Regions from separate parts of the Homo sapiens genome. Here regions 2, 3, 4, 5 and 6 are each linked to region 1. Evidence: promoter capture Hi-C in 16 types of primary human blood cells and fetal thymus (Javierre and others, 2016). All regions are on one chromosome and are shown on one strand. The core of a region is centred on a gene start or on the middle of the fragment in contact, and the rest is flanking DNA. Distances in the headings are between cores, read along the strand shown.

What was found. Contacts are between HindIII fragments. The CHiCAGO score rates a contact against its expected background, and 5 or more counts as called.
Region 2: a fragment that was not itself captured here is called in contact with the fragment with the promoter of CMTM4 in region 1 in 11 of 17 cell types (total B cells, naive B cells, naive CD8 T cells and 8 more); the score reaches 11.0 in total B cells.
Region 3: a contact is called between the fragment with the promoter of PDP2 here and the fragment with the promoter of CMTM4 in region 1, in 2 of 17 cell types (erythroblasts and endothelial precursors). The highest score is 5.5, in erythroblasts.
Region 4: a fragment that was not itself captured here is called in contact with the fragment with the promoter of CMTM4 in region 1 in 1 of 17 cell types (naive CD4 T cells); the score reaches 5.2 in naive CD4 T cells.
Region 5: a fragment that was not itself captured here is called in contact with the fragment with the promoter of CMTM4 in region 1 in 4 of 17 cell types (naive CD8 T cells, non-activated CD4 T cells, naive CD4 T cells and 1 more); the score reaches 6.9 in naive CD8 T cells.
Region 6: a contact is called between a fragment that was not itself captured here and the fragment with the promoter of CMTM4 in region 1, in 2 of 17 cell types (endothelial precursors and M1 macrophages). The highest score is 5.8, in endothelial precursors.

What each region holds. Positions count from the first base shown.
Region 1 is chr16:66,694,530-66,698,512 of GRCh38, reverse strand. CMTM4 (CKLF like MARVEL transmembrane domain containing 4) reads left to right here and starts at 1,770. Exons shown (of 4, transcript NM_181521.3): 1 at 1,770-2,173. The coding sequence starts at 1,988. RefSeq lists silencers at 1,128-1,207, 1,238-1,297, 1,538-1,877, 1,968-2,257 and an enhancer at 1,728-2,567. The HindIII fragment of the contact is 10,204 bases long and covers 1,124-3,983 here.
Region 2 is chr16:66,450,337-66,454,319 of GRCh38, reverse strand. All of the region lies in intron 2 of BEAN1 (brain expressed associated with NEDD4 1), which reads right to left. It also overlaps the pseudogene LOC107984807. Among named protein-coding and RNA genes, the nearest start is that of BEAN1-AS1, 24 kb to the left of the region's middle. The HindIII fragment of the contact is 1,650 bases long and covers 1,126-2,775 here.
Region 3 is chr16:66,878,260-66,882,242 of GRCh38, reverse strand. It overlaps PDP2 (pyruvate dehydrogenase phosphatase catalytic subunit 2), which reads right to left and starts at 1,728. Exons shown (of 2, transcript NM_020786.4): 1 at 1,603-1,728. RefSeq lists a silencer at 1,275-1,454 and enhancers at 914-1,686, 1,935-2,014. The HindIII fragment of the contact is 2,608 bases long and covers 697-3,304 here.
Region 4 is chr16:66,543,168-66,547,150 of GRCh38, reverse strand. The region is part of intron 2 of TK2 (thymidine kinase 2); the gene reads left to right. Among named protein-coding and RNA genes, the nearest start is that of TK2, 5.0 kb to the left of the region's middle. The HindIII fragment of the contact is 6,883 bases long and covers 1-3,983 here.
Region 5 is chr16:66,562,016-66,565,998 of GRCh38, reverse strand. It overlaps CKLF (chemokine like factor), which reads right to left. Exons shown (of 4, transcript NM_016951.4): 3 at 2,782-2,877; 4 at 1-113. All of the region lies in intron 2 of CKLF-CMTM1 (CKLF-CMTM1 readthrough), which reads right to left. Among named protein-coding and RNA genes, the nearest start is that of CMTM1, 2.4 kb to the left of the region's middle. The HindIII fragment of the contact is 3,389 bases long and covers 56-3,444 here.
Region 6 is chr16:66,826,537-66,830,519 of GRCh38, reverse strand. It overlaps NAE1 (NEDD8 activating enzyme E1 subunit 1), which reads left to right. Exons shown (of 20, transcript NM_003905.4): 2 at 3,740-3,843; 3 at 3,937-3,983. Among named protein-coding and RNA genes, the nearest start is that of NAE1, 2.4 kb to the left of the region's middle. RefSeq lists a silencer at 1-69. The HindIII fragment of the contact is 1,709 bases long and covers 1,153-2,861 here.

The DNA.
Region 1 (3,983 bases), core at 521-3,020:
AGTGAGCTATGATTGTACCACTGTACTCCAGCCTGGATGACAGAGTGAAAAGTCTATTTTAAAAACAAACAAAACAAAACAAAACAGAAAAACAGGTGGGGCACGGTGGCTCACATCTGTAATCCCAGCCCTTTGGGAGGCTGAGGTGGGTAGATCACTTGAGGCCAGTAGTTTGAGATCTGCCTGGCCAACATGGTGAAACCCTGTCTCTACTAAAAATGCCAAAATTAGCTGGGCGTGGTGGTCCCAGCTGCTCGGGAGGCTGAGGTGGGAGAATCGCTTGAGGTGGAGGTTGCTGTAAGCAGAGATCTCACCACAGCGCTCCAGCCTGGGTGATGAGCAAGACTCTGTCTCAGAAAACACACACACAAAAAACCCCCAAACAACACACACACGCACACACAAAAATATAGATAAAAAGTAATACAGTAGAACAATTATTTAAAGTATACGAGAAGATGTGTGTAGGTTATATGTAAATACTACACCATTTTATATAAAGGATTTGAGAGCATCTTCAGATTTTGGTATTTGAGGGGGTCCTGAAAACAAGCTCCCTCTCTTGCCCCCATACAGAAGGACAACAGTATTAGAGTCACTGTCCTTCCTATCTTTGAAAAAGTTGAGGGCTGGGCATGGTCAGTCACACCTGTAATCCCAGCAATTTGGGAGGCTGAGGCAGGAGGATCCCCTGAGCCCGGGAGTTCGAGATCAGCCTGGGCAACACAGTGAGGCCCTATCTCTACAAAAATAATGATGATGAAAATAATAAATAACTTTTTTTTAAAAAAAGAAAAAGTAGGAACCTGGGCTCTGCCCACCAATGAACTGTGTGACCTTGGACAAGCTACTTCCAGTCTGCAGCCTTAGTCTCTTCTTCTGTAAAATAGAAATAACAACGATACGTTCTTCAAGCGCCTTGCTCAGTGCCTAGAACATGGCAAGCTCTCGGTATTTGTGGTTGTGGAAGGGTTCAATATCAAAGCGACACTTCTTAGTCAGTGTTTTACTTAGCTTAAAATTAGCCTTCACACTTGAATTGTAAATTGGTCCCTAATTAATGCCCTTCGGGGCAAAATCTGTGTTTAACCTTACTTTATGCGTAGACAGAGCTAGCAAAGCTTTTCAGCTGAGAGGAGAGGAACATGTCAGTCGCCTGGGTCAGGCCGGCGGGGACAACCTGCAGTGGGGCGGCTCCTCACCCTGCCCCGCCCGCCCCTGGCCTCGGAACCGGTTTGTTCCAGGCGCCCAGCGTGAGAACACAGGCACTTACCCACCTCTCGTCGGCCCAATAGTCTGAGTCAAGCCCACCCTGGCCACGCACCGTTCCCGGCACCCGGGTGGCGCAGCCCGTCTCTGTCTTTACCGAGAAGCTCCCCACCCTATGCGTCGAGGACCCCACTTTCTTCAAAGGAGAACCTGAGGCAGCGTCTGGGAAAGCAACTCCATGGCCTCCAGGTCCACCTCGACCCTTTCCTCAGCCCCAAGACCCCGCTGCCTGAACCCCATCGCCCCGCGTGCCGGGATCGCCAGCGCCCACCAGCGGCTCCCGCCCCGGCTCTAGGCGCAGGTGGGGGCGGGGCCAGGGCGGGGCCTGAGGAGCCGGCGCCCCGCCTCGCCCCGCCCCTCCCCGAGGCCCGCGGCGCCGCCGCCTCCACCTCGCTCGAGCCGCGGAGCGCCTCCGAGCGGCCGGCTGCGGCCTGGCTCCGCCTCTCCCGGCCCGGCGCGCCCGCTCCCGCCTCCTTCCCTCTCCTGGCTCCCACCTCCCTCCCTTTCCGCTGCCGAGGCGGCGGGAGCCGAGCCCGAGCGGACCGAGCCGCAGCCGCAGCCGGGCGGCGGGCGAGAGGCGGCGGCGGCGGGCGGGCCGCGGGCAGTCAGTCGGGCGGCGGCGGCGGCGGCGGCGGCGGCGATGCGGCGGCCCCGCTGAGTCCGCCCGCTCCTGGCGCCGGGAGCCAGCCGCGCGAGGCGGCCCGGGCCGGGCGGCAGCATGCGGAGCGGCGAGGAGCTGGACGGCTTCGAGGGCGAGGCCTCGAGCACCTCCATGATCTCGGGCGCCAGCAGCCCGTACCAGCCCACCACCGAGCCGGTGAGCCAGCGCCGCGGGCTGGCCGGCCTGCGCTGCGACCCCGACTACCTGCGCGGCGCGCTCGGCCGCCTCAAGGTCGCCCAAGTGGTAGGTGCCGGGCGGGGCCCCAGGTGCCCGAGGGCGGCCTAGCCGCACGCCTCCCTCCCCGCCCCGCTGCGGGGCCTCCGCCGCGTACCCGCTTGCCCAGGCCGGAGCCCGCTCCTCGCGCCCCCTCTCCCTCGTGGGGTCCCGGGACCACTCTGCAGCCTTCTCTGGGGACCCCGCCTTCGGCCAGAGCCTGCCCTTCCCAGGCCGGCAGCCTCAGGTGTGCGCCTCCTACCTGAGCACCTGCCTTCGGGCCTACCTGTCCGCTCCGCCCTCGCTCCCGGGAGTCTGTGGCGTTACTGGGCTGGGTGCTGCTGGGAATCCTGCTGTCTCCTGGGTACAGCTGGTCTTAGCAACCTGTGGCAGGTTTTCCCGGCCCGCGCAACCTCCGGACGGTGCCTGTTTCTGCCTGCGGAGACGAGGGACTGTGGTTTGGTTCCCACTTGATGTCTAGCTGGGTGCCAGGCGTATATGGTAGGCGCTTAGTAAGTATTTGCTGGATGGAGGCAGGTAGCCCTGATGCAGTGGAGGAGCCCAGATATGCCCACAATTCTCTACACTGCAGAGGTTTGTGTCCTTCTAACCAAGAAGACAGACTTGGCATCCCGGAATCCACCGCCCAGCACGGTGGCTGGCACTGCCCAATTGGTACCCAGAGTTAAATCTGGGAGGGCAGCCAGTTTTGGAGGTAGCAGAAACAGAGAACTTTCTGTTGGACTTGTCTGTAGTAGAGCTCATTTCTCAGGGTCCTGTGTTTTAGCTTCCAGGGTGTTCTGGGCAGGGGCCTCTCAGCTCTGTTCCTGCTTTGTGGTTTTGTAACATGCCTCTGCGGGCAATTGCTTAGCTCTGTTGTGGGCATGCTCTAATTCAGAAAAACCCGTGTGTCCCCCCAACATTCTCTGTCACAGGTAGGCCTTCTGAGGCCACCGGCCTCAAAACTTTATAGACTTCTCATAGCCAGAGAAGCCACTTGTTCTTGTTCTCTCTCTCTCTCTTTTTTGAGACCGGGTCTCTGTCGCCCAGGGTGGAGTGCACTGGTGCGATCGTGGCTCACTGCAGGTTCGACCTCCCAGGCTCAAGCGATCTTCTCACCTCAGCTTCCCGAGTAGCTGGGACTACAAGCACGTTCCACCATGCCGGGTTAATTTTTGTATTTTTAGTAGAGATGGGGTTTCACCATGTTGCCCAGACTGGTCTCCAACTACTGGGCTCAAGCGATCACCCCTCCTTGGTTTCCCAAAGTGCTGGGATTACAGGCATGAGCCACCGTGCCAGGCCTGGTCCTCCTTTTCCTACTTGAGTGCATAAGCATTCCTTGGGAATAATATAATGTGTGGATACCCTTTAAATAAATGTCCTGGCGTTTGTAAATGACAGAATCATAGGCTATTTTATGTCTCTCTTGGGTGAAAGGCTTGTTCTGCTGACTGCCAGAGGGTATTTTTGAAGGGCTTTATGGAAAGAAAAATGGATCAGATAATCTGTCTTCAGAATTTTAAATTTACCTTATCTGGTAAACTGGAATGTTTTCAAAGATGCATTGGTTTTTAGTTTGGCGTTGCTGTTAGCAAAGAGAATGTAGGAGGTGAAGGGAGGTGTGCAATTGCCTTTTTTTTTTTTTTTTTTTTTTGAGATGGAGTCTAGCTCTGTCGCCCAGGCTGGAGTGCAGTGACACAATCTTGGCTCACTGCCACCTCTGCCTCCCGGGTTCAAGCGATTCTCCTGCCTCAGCCTCCCGAGTAGCTGGGATTACAGGCGCCCACCACCACGCCCAGCTAATTTTTGTAATTTTAGTAGAGACGGGGTTTTGCTG
Region 2 (3,983 bases), core at 701-3,200, 240 kb after region 1:
TCTCAATAACTGACAAAGCAATTAGAAACTCAGCCAGGATACAGAAGACTTGAATGACGCTATCAACCAGTGTGACATTCATAGAAGCCTTCACCAACTGAAGATTACGCATTCTTTTCAAGTGCACATGAGACATTCTCCAGGATAGACCACATATGGGCCATAAAACAAGTCTCAATAGATTTAAAAAGATTTAAATCATACAAAATATGTTCTCTGACCACAATGGAATTAGAGATCCAAAATAGAAAACTATCCGGGAAAACCCCAACTACTTAGAAATTAGGCCGGGCGTGGTGGGCTCACGCCTGGAATCCCAGCACTTTGGGAGGCTGAGGCAGGAGGATCATTTGAGGTCAGGAGTTTGAGACCACCCTGGCCAACATGGCAAAACCCTGTCTCTACTAAAAATACAAAAATTAGCCAGGTGTGGTGGCATGTGCTTGTAATCCCAGCTACTTGGGAGGTTGAGGCAGGAGAATCATTTGAACCTGGAAGACAGAGGTTGCAATGAGCTGAGATTGTGCCACTGCACTCCAGCCTGGGCAACAGAGCAAGACTCTGTCCCCCTGACCCAAAAAAAAAAAATTAAACTACATGCTTCTAAATAATCTATAGGTCAAAGAAGAAATCACAATAAAAATAAAAATATATTTTAGGCTAGGCACTGTGGCTCATGCCTGTAATCCCAACACTTTGGGAGGTCAAGGTGGGAGGATTGCCTTAGCCCAGGAGTTTGACACCAGCTTGGGCAACATAGTGAGATCCTGTATATACAAAAAAATAATAAAAAGTTAGCCGGGTATGGTGGTGCATGCCTATAGTCCCAGCTACTTGGGAGGCTGAAGTGGGAGGACTGCTTGAGCCCAGGAGTTCAAGGTTACAGTGAGCTATGATTGCACCACTGCACTCCAGCCTTTTGAAGCCTTTGTCTTCAGAAAACAAAACAATGTGTGTGTGTGTGTGTGTGTGTGTGTATAACAGAATGAAAAAAAACACAACATAGTATCAAAATTTATGGAATTCAGCTAAAGCAATGCTTAGTGGGAAATTCATAGCTTTAAATACTTATATTAGAAAAGAAGAAAGGAAAAGAAGAAAGGCCTCGACTTGAAAACCTAAGCTTTCATGTTAAGAAACTAGAAAAAGAGTAAACAAAACCCAAAGCAAGTAGAGGAAGGAAATAATAAAGATGAGAGCAGAAATCAACGAACTAGAAAACAGAAAAGCAACACAGAATATCAATGAAACCAAAAGTTGTTTTTTTGAAAAGATAAAATTTACAAATCTTAGCAGCTTTATGAGGTAGGTGCTAGTAATCTGATTTAATAGATGAGGGTACTGAGGCTCAGGAAGGTGAAGTGACTTGCCCAAGATCGCAAAGACAATTTTTAGTTGGGGGGAGGGAGACAGGATTTGAACCTGGTTCTGACTCCATAGACCAGGGAATAATATGATATCCTCTCTCCATCCTGGGGAGCTGTGTGTCCCTTCGTTACTCTGGGGCCGTACAGTTGGGCATTGGGGTAAGTGAGTCTGCCACGTGAGGTGCCATGAGGATTGGGAAACCCAGCTATGAAGCAAACCATCTCTAAACCCCATCCTCCTTTTCTCTACACTCTGGAATGTCTGTCCTGCAAAAAGCGTCTAGAAATTTCCCCAATAAACACTCACCTGACAACGCACTCAGATTCCTGGTCTCCCCACAGATCCCTTCGCCAAACACCCATGAGGGATTCTGGTGCCACCTGACCTCTGTAAATGTCACACTGGATGGGCATGCTTTTGCCAACTCCTTTAGGCCTTTCTGGTGGGACAGCAATTATGGCTCCTTCACTGTTCACCATGCTGCCCAGGCCCAAAGCCAGAGGCCTACAAAAGGCATGGCCCTGTGGTTTTCGATTCTGGAGCACATTAAAGGTGATAGGATTTTGTCCTCTGATCCTCAGAGATTCCTTCATTTCCCAGAATTTACAAGGGCATTTGGAAAACCAGCATCAGGGTAGCAGTGTATTAAAATTAGTATACTAGGGCTTATTCCAGAAATGCAAGGATGATTTAAGATCAGGAAATCTATTAGCATAGTATGTTACTTCAGTAGGCAGGACGAGAGAAACCAGTAGAATAGGAAAAGACAGTTACCTCTTTGCCATGATAGATCCTGATGATCTCAACTGACTGCCAACATCACACTAAACCATGGAGCTTTGGAGTAGTTTCCCAGCATGAGGTTCATGGCATGTGGATTCCAAAAAACATTATGGGGCATTTGGGGAGAAGTTCTTTATCCCCCACTCCCCATCAGATTGCTTTGCAGGCCTGAGCTATTTTGAGAATCAAACCAGTCCCAGTCCCAGGCCTTGTGTTCACCAACGTTTAGTATCCTGAGAAGGTAAGCAGCTCTAGGGTCTCTGGAAAAGGATCATCCTTCAGCCACCTTCCTTGGGCAGCCAAAGTCCCGAGTTCCTTTGCTGGAGCTGACCTGCTTCTTGGACTAGGACAGAACTCTGGTTAAATAAGACACAGACAATCCTGGGTTCAAGTCCTGGCACTGCCTCTTGCTGGCAGTGCCCACTGAGCAAGTCAGATCTCTAAGCCTCTATTGCCTCATCTGTAAAATGGGAGCAGCAATTTCGGCTATGAGCTAATCAAAGCAAACTGCCTAGCAGGATGCCTGGCTCATAATAGGTGCCCAATACATGACAATCAAATATTCAAAATTTAAAGACATTCCCTAGACTCAGAACTAAATGTGAAAGACAAAAGAGTAAAGCTTGAAGTGGAAAACATCAGAGAACATCTTCATGACCTTGCATTTCTTAAACAGGACACAGAAGATACTAACCATTTAAAAATGGATACATTGGACTATATTAAAATAAAAAAACTTTGGTTGGAGTTTGGGTTGCAAAGTGGTGGAGGGCTGAGGGCCTGCACAGGGACTGAGGCATCCAGGGTCAAGGTCAAGGTCATGGCTGGAACAAGTGAAAGATTTTGAAAGAAGATTCTCTAAATATATTCATCATTTGCAACCTGCCCCAGGACACTGGAGAATGTTTCTCATGGAGGGATCTGTCTGTACTGGTGCCTGGGAGTGGTTAATAGATCCCGAGACAAAAGAGTTCCTTCTTCACGTCTTTATGGAATCATCCATTTTTTCATGATTAGCTTTTCACTCTAATAGGTTTGTTCTTTGCTGGATGCACAAGAGGTAGTTGCACCATCAATTACAGCAGTTCAGTGTCAAACAGTATTAACAGAGTATAATATGTCTGGTGATGATACTGGAAAACTAATTTTGAAACCTAGGCCTTGTGTTCAATGAGGGGGCCTAAAACAGCCTTTCTTCAAATAAGTGATAAGTGAAAAGCCCCCACAGGATTCCTTTTCAGTTCAAAATATGCAAGCCACAGCAGCTGCTGAATGGAAATGTGTGATATTTACCTAGACTGTCTTTTAATGATGACTCATATTATCAGTGCTTTTGATACCTCTGCTCACCTATGCTTCAGTGTAGGTGTCCCTTGAATACTTCTCATCCTGCAAAGATTTTTTCTTTTTCTTTTCTTTCTTTCTTTCTTTTTTGATTTTTGAGACAGGGTCTTCTTGCTCTGTCACCCAGGCTGGAGCCTGGAGTACAGTGGCACAATCATAGCTCACTGCCGCCTTGAACTCCTATGCTCAAGCGATCCTCCTGCCTTTGCCTTCCAAGTAGCTGGGACTATAGGTGTGTACCACCACACCTGGCTAATCTTAAAATTTTGTTTGTATACACAGGGTCTTGCTATGTTGCCCAAGCTGGTCTCAAACTCCTGGCCTCAAGCGATCCTCCCGTTTCGGCCTCCCAAAGTGCTGGGATTACAGGTATGAGCCACCCCATCCAGACCCATCCTGCAAAGATTTTTGCAGTAGTAGAAGTATAGGTCTTGGTTATTGCAGTACACTTAGAAACAGACCCTCATTCAGCCTTTGTATGTTTTTTT
Region 3 (3,983 bases), core at 479-2,978, 180 kb before region 1:
AGGCTCAAGCGATCTTCCGCCCTTGGCCTCCCAAAGTGCTGAGATTACAGGTGGGAGCTACTGCGCACAGTCATTCTGTACGTATTTTTGTAGAGTTGTAACCCCAACTTTGAATCTGGCTTTCCTGATAAGAGTATTTTTTCACATCTGATGGCTACATTTTGACATAAATAATCACAACTTACTTAACTATTCTTTACGGCTGGAAATTTAGAGGTTGTTTCTACTACTTGCTATTTATTAATATAAAATACCAAACTGGACTGGGCACAGTGGCTCATGCCTATAATCTCAGCATTTTGGGAGGCCAAGGCAAGAGGATCACTTGAGGCTAGGGAGTTTAAGACCACCCTGGGTGATACAGCAAGTGCCCCATCTCTACAAAAATTTTTAGATTAGCTGGGCATGGTGGTAAGTGCCTGTAGTCCCAGCTACTCAAGAGGCTGAGGTGGGAGGATCGCTTGAGCCCAAGATTTCAAGACTGCAGTGAGCTATGATCACACCACTGCACTCCAGCCTGGGCGACAGAGCCAGATCTGTCTCTTTAAAAACAACAACAACAACAAAACCCCACCAAACTGTACTGCTTTATGCAGTAACCTTTTCTCTACTTAGGTTTTATCCTAGTTATTTCCCAAACAAGGAGTCAGTAGGTCCAAGGGTGTAGACTCATTGCCAAACTGATTTCCAAAAGCTTCACATCTGCCTCCTCAAGGGGGTGACGAGTTTCCTAGTCCCTTCACTAGCCCTGGTGGTACTTTTCCTTGGAATATAATAAATTAAATTAAATTAAATTAAATTAAATTAAATTAAAAAAAAAAAAACAGAACAAAACCTTGACCCATTATAATGAGCTTTTCATGTATGAATCCTGCCCTCGGGATCTCGAGATCATTTGTCGGGACCTCAAGAGTTCCCAGGACTGAGGACCGTCCCTTCACTCCCCCACCCCCTGCCAGCCCACCCCGCAGAAGTCGGTGCGGGGGCGGTCTGTCCGGGAGCAGAGGGCGCCTGACGCTCCGGCCCTGCAGTCAAGGCAGGCAGCGGTGCAGGGTGATACACCGCAGCCAGGACGCAAACCCTCTTGCATCCTTAAAGAAAACAGACAGGTCCCAAGTTCAAATCTCTGACTTCAGCCTCATCGCTAAGTGCATGGACTCCGGAGCCCACCAAAACCGATCTCCCTAGAACCCCGGCACGGCCGTACCCCAGCTGGGTGCCCCCGGGCGACCCGCTTGGTGCCTCTGAGCCCCGGCTTGCCAGCCTGTAAAACAGGGGCGTGCAGTCGGGACACAGAGCTCCAAGGGGTGCTCGATAGGCCAGAGCAGCTAGTGGGGTGCCCCGGTAGGCAGCCAAGGGTCCTCGGCGAGCCCGCGGGCCCACGTGGCGCGCGCACGTGAGTGGGGTGACCGTGGTCGTAGGCCCAGCTGGTCCCTCTCCGCCGCGGACCCGCCCCCTCACCTCAGCTCTCCCTCCGCCCAGTCACCTGAGCCGGTGCCGCAGGCCGGGAGGGTCAGGCGCCGGCGAGGCCTGGCGGGGAAAGAGGTGTCCACATCCCCCGCTCGTTACCTTCCCTACCTCGGACCCTCGCCCGCTTCTCACCAGCTGGCGAGGCCACAGCCGCCCGCTCCGTCCGGTCAGTTCAGCGCCTGCGCACAGTGCCACAACTGCGGCCACCAGGTCCTCACCTCACCCAGGCGGTCCCTAGTCAGGACCCAGCTCCAGAAGGAAGCGCCCTCCCGCCAGCCCTGGTTGGCTCAATTGCGGAGGCGGGCCCTTGATGGACAGAGGTATTGCCCAATGGCTAAAGAGGATGAGAGGCGGGCAGAAAGGCGGGACCCGGGAGGGGGCAACACCGCCCCTTACCCCCTGCCTGGGTGCTGAAAGTGTTCGAGCGCGGGGCCACAGGACCAGGCAGTCACGTGCCTGAGATCGCCAGCTACGTGGCCGCTACACTCTGCATACCCCGAACCCAGCGGCCTCCCCAATTCCTCACCGTTGTTAGAACACCTCACTGCTTCCTCTCCACTTCGGTGTCGACCACTCCAGAACCCTCTCTTGAGCGCCACACCCTGATGTCCAGCCACCTGGACACCTGCCTCTGGAGGCCCCCAGGCGCCTCAAACATAACTTACCCCAAACTCAGCTTTCTGCCAAACTTGCTTTTTCTCTTCTCTCCTAACCCAGTAATGGCCCCACCATCTGCCCAGAGACCCAAGCCAAAACCCTGGGAGGCATCTTGACTCCTTCCTCTCCCTCACCCTCTCTTTCCAGTTATCTAATGCTGTAAATCCTATCTCCTAAATCTCTCTCCACTCATCCATCCGGCGACGCAGCCACCCTATTCCAAGCCTCTCACTTGATTTTACGGTTTTCCCTCCTCCACCTTTGACTTGGTCCTAACCACAGAGCAGAGCAGCCAGAATGACGCCCCTCCCACCTTTTCTCGTGGTTGGTGGGTAGAGACAAGGTCTTTCTATGTTGCCCAGGCTGGTCTCAAACTGCCGGGCTCAAGCAATCCTCCCACCTCAGCCTCCCCAAAGTGCTGGGATTACAGACGTGAGCCATCACGCCTGGCAGAATGACACTTCTAAAACTCAAATTCCAAGGCCGAGTGCGGTGGCTCCTGCCTGTAATCCCAGCACTTTGGGAGGCCGAGGCGGGGGGATCTCCTGAGGTCAGGAGTTTGAGACCAGCCTGGCCAACATCACGAAACCGTCTCTACTAAAAATACAAAAATTAGCTGGGAGTGGTGGTGCGCGCCTGTAGTCCCAGCTACCTGGGAGGCTGAGGCATGAGAATCATTTGAACCAGGGAGGTGGAAGTTGCACTGAGGTGAGATCATGCCACTGCACGCCAGCCTGGGAGACAGAGTGAGAGTCTGTCTCAAAAAAAACAAAAACAGAAACAAAAACAAACCAAAAAAACCCTCAAATTCCTGCCCTAAAGTCTTTTTTTTTTTTTTTTTTTTTTTTTTTTGAGACGGAGTCTCGCTCTGTCGCCCAGGCTGGAGTGCAGTGGCGGGATCTCGGCTCACTGCAAGCTCCGCCTCCCGGGTTCACGCCATTCCCCTGCCTCAGCCTCCCAAGTAGCTGGGACTACAGGCGCCCGCCACTACGCCCGGCTAATTTTTTGTATTTTTAGTAGAGACGGGGTTTCACCGTTTTAGCCGGGATGGTCTCGATCTCCTGACCTCGTGATCCGCCCGCCTCCGCCTCCCAAAGTGCTGGGATTACAGGCGTGAGCCACCGCGCCCGGCCTCCTGCCCTAAAGTCTTTAGTGGTTTCCCACAAACCATTAAGCTTTGAACTGACCATTATATTGGCCTGCTACTGACAATTAACTCAGCACGGCTGGCGGCTGGTAGGTTGAGAGAGACAGCGAACCCCGACACCAGATAATCCCTCCGTCCCTTCTGGTCCTAACATTGTGGCATTCCAGTGATGACCTGCTTCCTTATAAATTATTTTCACAGAACTCTTGTAACTATGGTAAGTCAGATGGAGTCCTTCCCTGGAGACAGAGAAAAATGGGAGACAACCAGAAAAAGCCACTTGGAGCCCTGAGAGTGTGGTTTTCCAGAAGGAAGACACCCTGGCTTACCTGGGCAGCCTGGCCAGCCTCCTGGACCCAAGGACGTGGTCACAATAAAACTGCTCATGTCAGACTTGCCCTTGTATATTTATAGTTCCACTCACCCTTAGCCCTTTCCAGAAGTTCAAAGTCAGGACTGGCAATATCTCTCTTCCTGCATATTAAGAGGACTGTTTCAGACCCAAACTAAAAAAAAGTCTAAGGGTTTCTAATAAATGAGTGCAAGAGAATGCAAAAGCACACTTCTTCCCTCCCCCCAGCAGACAGGTCATATAGGGTCACAACGGGTTACCCTTCCGGACAGAGGCAGCAGTGTTTAATTATTCAATCTGCAGGTGTTATGGGTGCCCACAATGTGTCAGGCCCTGGGCTGACTGCTGAGACACACA
Region 4 (3,983 bases), core at 623-3,122, 150 kb after region 1:
GTGCAGCCATTACATGGCACAGTTTACAATATTAGATAATTGAGTATCACAACAAAGTTTTTTAATAAAATAACTGGACAGAACTTAACATCCAACAGGGCCATACCTAATGGCTCATGCCTATAATCCCAGCACTTCGGGAGGCAAAGGTGGGAGGATTGCTTGAGCTCAGGAGTCTGAGACCAGCCTGGGCAACATGGCAAAATGCTGTTTCTACAAAAAATACAAAAAATTAGCTGGGCATGGTGGCATGCACCAGTAGTCCTAGCTACTCGGGAGGCTGAGGTGGGAGGGTTGCTTGAGCCTGGGAGGTCAAGGCTGCAGTGAGCTGTTATTGCATTGCTGCACTCCATCGTGGGCAACAGAACGAGACCCTGTCTCAAAAAAAAAAAAAAAATCAAATAGTAGGGAGTTCAATAAATTGTGACAGGTCTTATATAATGGATTATGTAAAGCCATTAAAAACCATGTTTTTGAAAAATATTTAGTGACCTGGGAAGGCACTCACTATGTAAAAGATGAAAAAAAAAAATAACAAAACCAACAAAAGTATATGAAGTATGATCCCAAATGAAAAAAAAAACTGTCCTTAGGAAACAAACAGGAAAGAAATATTATAAACATTAATGCCGAAATTCTCAGTCTAGTTAAGAGATAGATGTGGGGTTAACAAGGAGCATGTAAGAGAGAGTTTGTGGTGTGATGGGGTAAAAGTGTCTTCCCTTAGTTATTTGAATGTTAAATGAAATTCAGCTGGGTTCCTTTTTAAAACAGCTTTATTGTAATTTGCATACCACAAAATTCACCCATTTAAATGTGCAATTCAATGATTTTTAGTAAATTTACAGAGTAAACAGCACTACAGAGTAAACACCACTACAATCTAATTTTATTTTATTTTATTTTTATTTTTTATTTTTTGAGACAAGGTCTGGCTCTGTTGTCCAGGCTGGAGGACAGTGGCACAATCACAACTTACTGCAGCCTTGACTTCCTGGTCTCAGGTGATCCTCCCACATCAGCCTCCCAAGTAGCTGGGACTACAGGCACATACCACCATTCCTGGCTAATTTTTGTATTTGTTGTAGAGATGGGATTTCTACATGTTGCCCAGGCTGTGCAATCTAATTTTATAACATTTCCATTACTCCAAAAAGAAACCTTGTGCCCATTTGCAATCTCTTCTGGCCCCAGGTGACCACTAATCTACTTCCTGTCTCTTTAGGGATTTGTGTTTTCTGGACGTTCCATATAAAATGGAACATATAGCGTGGGATCTTTTGTATCTGGCTTCTTTCACTTAGCACATTTTTTTTTTTTCTTTTTTGAGATGGAGTTTCTCTCTGTTGCCCAGGCTGGAGTGCAATGGCATGATCTTGGCTCACTGCAACCTCCGCCGCCAGGGTTCAAGCCATTTTCCTGCCTCAGCCTCCCAAGTAGCTGGGATTACAGTCATGTGCCACCACGTGCAGCTAATTTTTGTATTTTTAGTAGAGTCGGGGTTTCACCACGTTAGCCAGGCTGGTCTCGAACTCCTAACCTCAGGTGATCCGCCTGTCTAGGCCTCCCAAAGTGCTGGGATTACAGGCGTGAGCCACCGCTCCTGGTTGCTTAGCATAATATTTTGACATGCATCTGCCTTGTAGCACGTATTAGTATGTCATTTTTTCCTATAGCTGAATAGTATTCATGGCGTGGCTGTAGTGCACTTTGTTTATCCACTTGCCAGTTGTTAGACGTTTGGGCAAGTTTCTTTTGACTGCAGATTTCTCAGGGTCTTTGATAAGACAGGATATTTGGATTCTCCCTGTGGAGGCTTTGGCACCCAAGCCAGTTTGCCTCTGGAACCCTGGGTTCTAATTAAACATCCAAATGACAATGATTGCTGAGATTTACGAGTGATTTTTATTTTCTTCTTTTAGGGATTGTGTAATAAGGTTTGATCAGAGAAATCCAACTGATAAATACATATATGCATATTCATAAACATATACATATATTCATGCATACATACATTCTTGTGTGTGAGAATGTATTTCTTTTTTTTTTTTTTTTTGAAGACAGGGTCTCACTCTGTCACCCAGACTGGAGTGCAGTGGTGTGATCTCGGCTCACCACAACCTCCACCTCTCAGCTCCCAAGCTCAAGCGATTCTCTTGCATCAGCCTCCCCAGTAGCTGGGATTACAGGCATCCGCCACCACGCCTGGCTAATTTTTGTATTTTTAGTAGAGACGGGGTTTCACCATGTTGGCCAGGCTGGTCTTGATCTCCTGACCTCAAATGATCCCCTGCCTCGGCCTCCCAAAATGCTGGGATTACAGGCGTGAGCCACTGCGCCTGGCCACTGAGAATGTATTTCTTAGCACAAGAATGCTTAATTTCCATTTTTAGGAAAGATTAAATATTGTTACTTATAATAGGGATAGATGGCTCATCACAGTTTCAGTTATAATCATGGAAAATTGGACTCAAGGGCTCATAGCAGAGGAAAATGGAGATAAATTGTAGCGTAATCACAGAGTGTTGGGCCAGGCCGGCCATGTGCTCCCACAGCATGGGGACCATCTCCTTTTCACAGTTTCCTGTTGCTTTCCTCCACACACTCATGAGCTCTTTGGCCGTTGCAACGAGGCCCTGAGTACACAGTGCCTGGCACAGCATAGGCCTTCAATAAACAGTTGAAACGTGCTCAAAGATGAGGACTGTATAGAAAATAATATTTGGCATGAAATATGCTCATATGTCATGGGGTTTATCTCTTAGTATTGGGATTATGGGTGATAGTTTCTCCTTTTTGATTTTCTGTATTTTCTTCAATGGGCATGCACTTCTCTTATAATATTTTTAGACATCACTTTAAAAAGAAATGTAAAGACTCCCTTTGCTTGCTTCCTGTTCCCCCTTCCATTTCAGGGGAACTTTGTGAGATTCTTCCTGCGTTGCCTGCTGTAAACCGGAGGGCAGATTGGCTGAGCTCATTCAGGGCCTGACATTCACCAGCTCTTCAGGATTTCATGCTGGGGATAGGAACAAGTTTCTGGGAGAAGGGCTTATCTGAACAACCTGTTAAAATGCTTCAATGAACAGGAAAGAAAAAAGACTGTAGAGTGATGTCTAGGTTGAGCTCTTTTTATATATCTAGGAAGAGGAAAAGTTTTCTTTAAAGAGCAATAAAAAAATTAAATCCATTAGTGCCCTAATGGGGTCTTTTCATGCCCTTTTGTTCATTCCCTTGGGTTCATTTTGTAGTTTGGGGCTCTAAAGGAGTGGGCTGGGAGGGACCCAGGATGGGAGAGTGGCCTTGTGTCTCCTGGATACCCGTTAGGATCAAGGCAGGAGGAACCTTCTCCGCCAGCTGACAGAGTTCTAGTTGCTGGGGAGACTTTAGTGGGGTCGGGTGAGACGGCCCACTGTGACCTGGTGTTTATGTGAGGTGTGACTGAGGCTCCATCAGGAGTCGTGAGAAGGGGCCTGGATGTGAATTCTAATTCTGATTCTTCCCTAGCCAAGTCTGGCACTTGGGTAAGTTACCTGTGTTGCCCAGGTTTCTCTGGGTGCTTCCAGCCTGAGTGCAAAGGAACAGGCCTCTGTGCAGCAGGTCGGGCCCCTCTCTGTGTGTGCCCCTGGAGGATGTCTAATGTGTTCTCAGGGGACAGTTTGTCTTATGTATTGGAGCTGCCCGTTCCCTGTGGCCATCTGCTGGAGCCAGAGCCACTGGGCCTATGTCATCAGCAGTGCCTGGCTGAGCAGAGCTTGGTCAGAATCACTGGGCTACAGGTTCAAGGGCTCCAGCCTAGAGTCTGATTTAGGGTCTGGATGCTACCTGGTGCCACCTCATGTTTAACCAGCTCCTCTGGTGCATCTGAAGCAGGCATCTGTGGACTAGACAGGGAGAAGCTCTGCTCCAGCCTCGTGGTTCCCATCCTTGCCTGCACATTGAAATCGCCTGGAGAGCTTTAAAAGTTACTGAGGCTTGGCCGG
Region 5 (3,983 bases), core at 501-3,000, 130 kb after region 1:
TTTTTTTCATGCACAGGCTTTTTCTGGTAAGGACCGCTGGGATTGAACAGAAGCTTCCGGTAAATAAGGGCCCCGTCGGCAAGACAGCATACTGCTGTCACAAGTGCAAACACCTGGAAAGAAAGACAAGTGTCACTGCCCTAACCATGGTCCCCACTCCTGTCATTCACACAAGTTTTAAGTGGTCTGCCCACCAGATTCCTCTCTTGCTAGGGTACTCGGATTGCTCCCTGTGCTTCATCTAATACTAACATGGAGAGACTTCAGAGATCATCTTATTCTCCTCATTGCTAAGTTTTCTAAATACTTGCCTATAGAAAGAGAAAAGATAATTTAAGTGAGCAGAAAAATAATAAAGCAGTGTGGGCTCTGAAATCCATACTTGTTTGCTTTTATCTCTTGACCTGCTCTTGCATGTATTCTTTTAAGCCCTACTGAGGATATTTAGTTATTAATATTTCTAACCCCAGTGTTCAACTCTGACTTCTCTACTGACAAACTCTACAGAAGAAAAGGTCAAAGTTAACACCAGCTCAATATTAAATCATGGGGACTGTAGCTCCAGAAAACTGGAGTTAATAAGATGATCCAAAGTGAACTCTCAAAGGCTAGGCTACATCTGCTTAAAGGGTGAGATTCTAAATAGACCTTAAGAAAGTAAAATTAGATAAAAACAATAACTAAGAACACGTGGGGGCCTTCAGACACTCTGATGGCTATCTGAGAGCTGGTGCCTGGGGTGGGAGAGGGGGATGTCATTCCTTGCATGCTGTTTGGTCAGCTTCTTCCAGTCATCAGGAAGTTTGGCTTCCTGGCTCCAGACATGGCTCTCACAGTCTCCTTTTCCACCCAGAGTCTCAAGCCACTGCCTCCTAGGTTCTGACCACACTGAATACCTCCTACCAATCTTTTCATGACTGGCACTCTGTACACTATTGGCTCCTCTACCTGGAACCTTTTCCATTTTTTTTCCTTTATTCTCAGCAAACAGCAATTCCACTGCCAGAGAGGTAGTTTCCTCTTTTCTGCACCATGCAGCTCCCTGTCAACAGCTTATATACAGCGGTTTCCACTTGTGTCTCCTGTGTTAAGCTCTAAGCAACTTGAGGACGGGGCTCACACTCTAGTCAGTGCTGTCTGAAAGCAGCATAATATGAGTCACCAGTGTAACACAGCCACATAATTAAAGATTTTTTAACAGCCACATTATAAATGTAAAGAAAAAAGTCGGCCGGGCGCGGTGGCTCACGCCTGTAATCCCAGCACTTTGGGAGACCGAGGCAGGCGGATCACGACGTCGGAAGATCGAGACCATCCTTGTTAACACGGTGAAACTCCGTCTCTACTAAAAATACAAAAAATTAGCCAGGCATGGTGGCGGATGCCTGTAGTCCCAGCTACTTGGGAGGCTGAGGCAGGAGAATGGCGTGAACCCGGGAGGCAGAGCTTGCAGTGAGCTGAGATAGCACCACTGCACTCCACCAGCCTGGGCGACAGAGACAGACTCTGTCTCAGAAAAAAAAAAAAAAGAAAAAAATAAGTCATAGATTTTAATATATTTAGCTCAGTATGTCTAAAATATTATCATTTAACATGTAATCAACAAAGTTATTAACAAAATATTCTACATTCCTTGTTGGGGGTAATAAATCTTTGAAATTAAATGTGTATTTTTATACTTACAGCTGATCTTGATTCAGACTAGCCACATTTCCAGTGCTCAGTAGCCCCATGTGGCTAGCAACTATGGTTACTATACTGAATAGCACAGCTCTATATTTTGTCAGCCCCTGCCAAAGTACACTTAAGAAATGAGTAAATGAATGAATGAGTAAAAAAGTGAATGAAAGTAAATCCTATGCCTGGTCCTTCCTTCTTCACAGTAGAAAGATGAGTATTATCTTCAAAAACAACTGGGGGAAATTGATACAGAGCTATCTCATTTCTAGAATAATTCTGACTCCTCATGAAGTTGCTCAGGGCCTAAGGGAGATGAAAATCATGGCTTCTGACATATATGGCTGAGAGTTCTCCTAAGTGACCCATACTATGAAAGAACATGGAAGTAGGAAGATTTATTTAAGAACTTTCTAATTCAATTCTCTAGGTCAGAACCTAGAAAAGCTAAATGATTTTGAACCTTGTATGAGAAATCTTAGAAGAATATCAGATAGAACTATAACTAAATTACTTGAGTCATATTCTGGCTTGCTTTCTAGGATGAGGTCTGATGGAATTGATCTGCTTCTCTTCAAGCCGGGTTCAAAATGATCCTTTAGTTGCAAGGTGCCCTGCCAATGTTCTCTTACCGTAAGGACATCATCTATTATATTCTATCTGAAGGATCTGAACAAGAAATAACTGAGCTCAAAACAGTCTGTCTCATCTTAACAAATGGTATGTATCCTTTTCTGTAAAAGGGAGAGCTATGAAACTCATCCATCCTTTTGTTTTGTTTTGCTTGACATCAGGTTTCTCAGAGCTAAGTGCTGTAACTGATTCCAGTAGCTTTTGTCAGTCTAGTCTAGCCCTACGTACCTATAAGAAATCTGTAGGAACCCCTTTATTGGGTTAATTCTGCTTCTAGTATAAAATCATACTCCTTCATGTTAATCAGGGCAAGCATTCACAGACAAAAATATTAAGCCACTAGGCATTGTATATTGGCCTAGGAATCTCAAGGATGAATATAGTATAGCTTTCTATTCTTACATCTGTTTTCCAAGTAAATTTGCATTCTGATAAAACCTGAAGAAAGCAAGCAGAAAGACTTCCACTTACCCCTCCACCAACTGTCAATGTTGTGGTTTCTGGTATCAGTGCCAACACAGATACGATGAGCATGAATACTGTTGTTACCAGTGAGTTGATAATATCCTAAAAACACACAATAAAGCTGAGCCTTACATGAAGACTACCAAGCAATGCTAAAAAGGAAAAACAAAAAACAAAAAAACAACAACAACAAAAAACAAAGTCAGCAGGCAGAATGCACTGGCTCCCGCCTGTAATCCCAGCACTTTGGAAGGCAGACAGATCACTTGAAGCCTGGAGTTTGAGACCAGCCTGGCCGACATGGTGAAACCCCGTCTCTACTAAAAAAAACAAAAATTAGCCAGACATGGTGGTGCATGCCTGTAATCCCAGCTACTCGGGAGGCTGAGGCACAAAAATTGCTTGAACCCGGGAGGCAGAGGTTACAGTGAACTGAGATCATGCCACTGCACTACAGCCTGGGCAACAGAGTGAGACTCTGTTGCAACAAAAGGAGTCAGCTTCCTAAATATTTTGAAAGTTTCATTTTATTAAACAAATTTATTTAGCATCTATCTTTCAGGAAACCAAAATGTCACAGTAAAATGATACCTAGATAGTATCTGGTCTATAATGACACCTAGTGGTTTTCTTTTACCTGTGATATGCCAATCATTTACTTAAAAAGCTTTTTATTTCTTTTTTACTTAACATAAATGTAGTTGAAGGGAAAACTCATCTGATTAGGAAATAAAGTAGATGATGTATTATGTAGAAAGTTTAAGGTAGAAGGGGTGCCATGGGAAGTAAAAATGCTCATTTTTAATAACGTAAGAAAATGCAGAGTAGTCTACATTGTATATCAAACTTTAAGTTACTAAATGCAATTAATGCTGGGCGCTGTGGTGCATGTCTGTAATCCCAACACTTTGGGAGTTCAAGACCAGCCTTGCCAACATGGTGAAACTCTGTCTTTATTAAAAAATACAAAAATTAGCCAGGCATGGTGGTGAGCGCCTGTAGTTCCAGCTACTTGGGAGGCTGAGGCAGGAGAATTGCTTGAAGCCAGGAGACGGAGATTGCAGTGAGCCAAGATTGCACCACTGCATTCCAGCCTGGTGGAATTTTTTTTACTCCGTCTCAAAAAAAAAAAGGCAATTAATAAAACTTAAAATAGCACACACTTAAGAGAAAGTGGTAATTTTCAGGAAACCCCCACAGACATCTCT
Region 6 (3,983 bases), core at 758-3,257, 130 kb before region 1:
CCGGCCGCGAGGGCGGCACAGAGGGTTAGGTTTTGTTCTCAGCCAGCGCTGTCCAATGGAAATAAAATGCTAGTCTCATGTGAGCCGCAAATGTAATTATAAATTTTCTAGTAACCACACTAAAGGTAAAATGAAACAGATGAAATTGATTTTTAAATACAATTTAACCCAATATGTCCAAAACATTACTATTTCAACACAATATAAAAAGTTCTTGAGATATTTTACTTAAATTTTTATTTTTATTTTTATTTTTGTTTTTGTAGAAACGAGGTTTTTGCCACCTTTCCCCAAGCTGGTCATGAGTATTTTCCTTTTTAAAACTGTCTTGGAGGACCGGCACGGTGGCTCACGCCTGTAATCCCAGCACTTTGGGAGGCCGAAGCGGGCGGATCACCTGAGGTCAGGAGTTCGAGACCAGCCTGGGCAACATGGTGAAACCCTGTTTCTATTTAAAAATTCAGAAATTAGCTGGGCGTGGTGGTGCGCGCCTGTAATCCCAGTTACTCTGGAGGCTGAGGCTGGAGAATCGGTTGAATCCAGGAGGTGTAGGTTTCAGGGAGCCGAGATCGTGCCACTGCACTCCAGCCTGGGTGACAGAGCGAGACTCCGTCAAAAAAGCCCCCCCAAAACTATCGTATAAATATTGTATTTTACACTTACCAGCACATCTCAGTTAACACTAGCCTCATTGCTTGTGCTCAGTAGTACATGTGGCTAGCAGCTACCTTAATGGACAGTGCAGGCCTAAGCCATCAGGAGGGTCCTTGGGTACTTCCCCACCCTTGCCTTTTCTCCTTGCACTACCCATTCCTTATTTATTGAGCGTCTTCTGTGTCTTGAGGCTGTGGAGATAACAAAGCTGCTCAGCTTTCCTCCTTCCTGGAGCCTCTGAGACAACAGAAGTTATATGTCCCCAAGGACTGGAGCTTCTGTTTGCGCCACCAGCCTAGTGCTGTAGTAGAGGCTTTAGGCACTTAGTTCTGAGAGTACCCTTGAAAGCAACCATTTCCTGTGCTTTACAGTTGGAGAAACAGAGTCTTGGAGAAGTTAGGTAATTTGCCCAGAGTTCCCCATATCTTTGAGCCAGGATGTAAACTAAGGCTCTTCTGGCTTTTTCGGAGGTACTCAGTTACATCCTGCTTCCAAGCTTTTCGGAGAAGAAACAGGGTAACAGTCCTTATAACCAACTTAGGTTTTCTTGTAAATTCTTGGAGTTCTTGTGTTTCTAATGCAGGTATAACTGTACATGACAGAGCTGAGAAGATAGTTGAGGTTACTAAGCAACTCTAACAAAAGAGGGTTTTTGCTGAGGGCATTCCATTTAAGTCCCAAACTTTACTTTCATAGTGAGAACTGGTTTTGAAGTGTCAAAGGGAAGCAGTTAGAAGCAAAATGCAGCAGTCAATAAGCCCCTCCTTACTTCACGTTAGTTGGGCCAGCAAGATAGTAGAGAGGACTGATTCATTTGGCCTATTCTTGAAACATGTTACTTAGAGACACACCAGGATTCTTTTTTTTTTTTTTTTCAGGGACAAGGTCTCACTTTGTGACCCAGGCTAGAGTGCAGTGGCTAGAGTGCAGTGGCAAGAACACTGCTCACTGCAGCCTCAACTTCCTGGGCTCTAACGATCCTCCTGCCTCAGCCTCTTGAGTAGCTGGGACTACAGGCATGTGCCACCATGCTTAGCTAACTGTTTTAGAGATGGGGGTTTGCCCAGGCTGGTCTCGTACCTCTGCACTCAAGTGATCCTCCTGCCTCAGCCTCCCAAAGTGCTAGGATTACAGGCATGAGCCACAGTGCCTGGCCTCAGTATTCTTTTTGTTTTATTTTTGAGGTGGGTCTCAGTATGTTACCCAGGCTGGAGTGCAGTGGCTGTTCGCAGGTATGATTATTGGCACACCACAGCCTTGATCTCCTGGGCTGGAGTGATCCTCCTGCCTCAGTCTCCCAAGCAGCTGGGACTACAGGCACACACACTATCTCACCCTGCTTGAGATGCACCAGTATTTTTTTTTTTTTTTTTTTGAGACGGAGTCTCACTGTGTTGCGCAGGCTGGAGTGCAGTGGCGCGGTCTTGGCTCACTGCAATCTCCGCCTCCTGCGTTCATGCGATTCTCATGCCTCAGCCTCCCTAGTAGCTGGGATTATAGGTGCGTGCCACTGTGCCTGGTTAATTTTTGTATTTTTAGTAGAGACGGGGTTTCACTATGTTGGCCAGCCTGGTCTCAAACTCCTGACCTCAGGTGATCTGCCTGCCTCCGCCTCCCAAAGTGCTGGGATTACAGGCGTGAGCCACTGCGCCCAGCCAAGATGCACCAGTATTCTTAAATTTACTCTCCAACTATCTAAGCATCCATCAACCATATATGTCAGGTGTCTTCTACGTGCCATACTTTGATGGAGAAAACAGGCGTTTACGGTCCATCTGGTTCTTCTAGGCGATTCCTCCATACATTTGACAGCTGTCTGGGCCCTTATGGAGCATACAGTGGAGTGGAAAGATGGATGCTCAGCAAACAAAAACAAATGAAGCCAGGTACAGTGGCTTGTGCCTGTAGTCCCAGCAACTCTAGAGGCTGAGGCGAGAGAAATGCTTGAACCCAGGAGTTCAAGACCAGTCTGGATAACATAGTAAGACCCTGTATCAAAAACAAAAACAAAAAACAAGGCAGTTGCTTGACATGCTCTGGAGGACATACTGACTACATAATAAGGGGTAATCTGCTTTAAATCAGGTAACAGGGAAGGCACATTAATCACTCTATTAGAATGTTCATTGGGTAATATACTTTAAAGCACTCCTGTAGAAGTTGATGTGAGGCTTTTCAGATGATAATTCAGTTTTCTTGGTAAAGCTTTTGCAGAAGTCACAGTAATAAGCCCTATGTCGAGATCTTAAATGCATCTAACTTAACTTAAATGCATCTAATATAATTTTTTTTTTTTTTGAGACGGAGTCTCGCTCTGTCGCCCAGGCTGGAGTGCAGTGGCGCAATCTCGGCTCACTTCAAGCTCCGCCTCCTGGGTTCACGCCATTCTTCTGCCTCAGCCTCCGAGTAGGTGGGACTACAGGCGCCTGCCACCACGCCCAGCTAATTTTTTGTATTTTTTAGTAGAGACAGGGTTTCACCATGTTAGTCACGATGGTCTCGATCTCCTGACCTCGTGATCCGCCTGCCTTGGCCTCCCAAAGTGTTGGGATTACAGGTGTGAGCCACTGCACCTGGCACATCTAACATAATTTAAGAATAAATGAAATAGGGCTGGGCACGGTGGCTCACACCTGTAATCCCAGCATTTTGGGAGGCCAAGTGAGCTGAGATCATGCCACTACACTCCAGCCTGGGTGACAGAGCAAGACTCTGTCTCAAAACAAAACAAAGAATAAATGAAATAGAAAACAGATGAGGGTTTAAATCCAAAGACGCTTTTTAAATGTTTGTTTGTTTGTTTTGAGACAGAGTGTCGCTCTTGTGCCCAGGCTGATAAGGGGCTGGAAGACCAAGTTTCTGTTTCTAATTTGACCCTCTCCCTCTTTTCCCCTAACCATTCAAGGCATCAACCTGAGTTCTAGATTACTGTATAATCACTATACTAATATCTGTTCCCGTCTTACCTGTATTCTGTGGTTATCATATCAGTCTATGCAAGGAAAGTTTAAAGATCACCATTCAAATAAGAAAGCTGTATTTTCATGAAAGTTTTAAAAACATCAAATTTGTGTCTGTTTTGTAGGTTGTGGGGTGATCATGGGCAAGAGGCTTTAGAATCTGCTCATGTTTGCCTAATAAATGCAACAGCCACAGGAACTGAAATTCTTAAAAACTTGGTACTACCAGGTAACGTAGGTTTGTGGTTGTGTTCTAAATATACTTCTTTAAGTTTATGACCTAGAACTATGTATTCCTGACTGACTCTGTTTTGGCTCTCAGGTATTGGTTCGTTTACAATTATTGATGGAAATCAGGTCAGCGGAGAA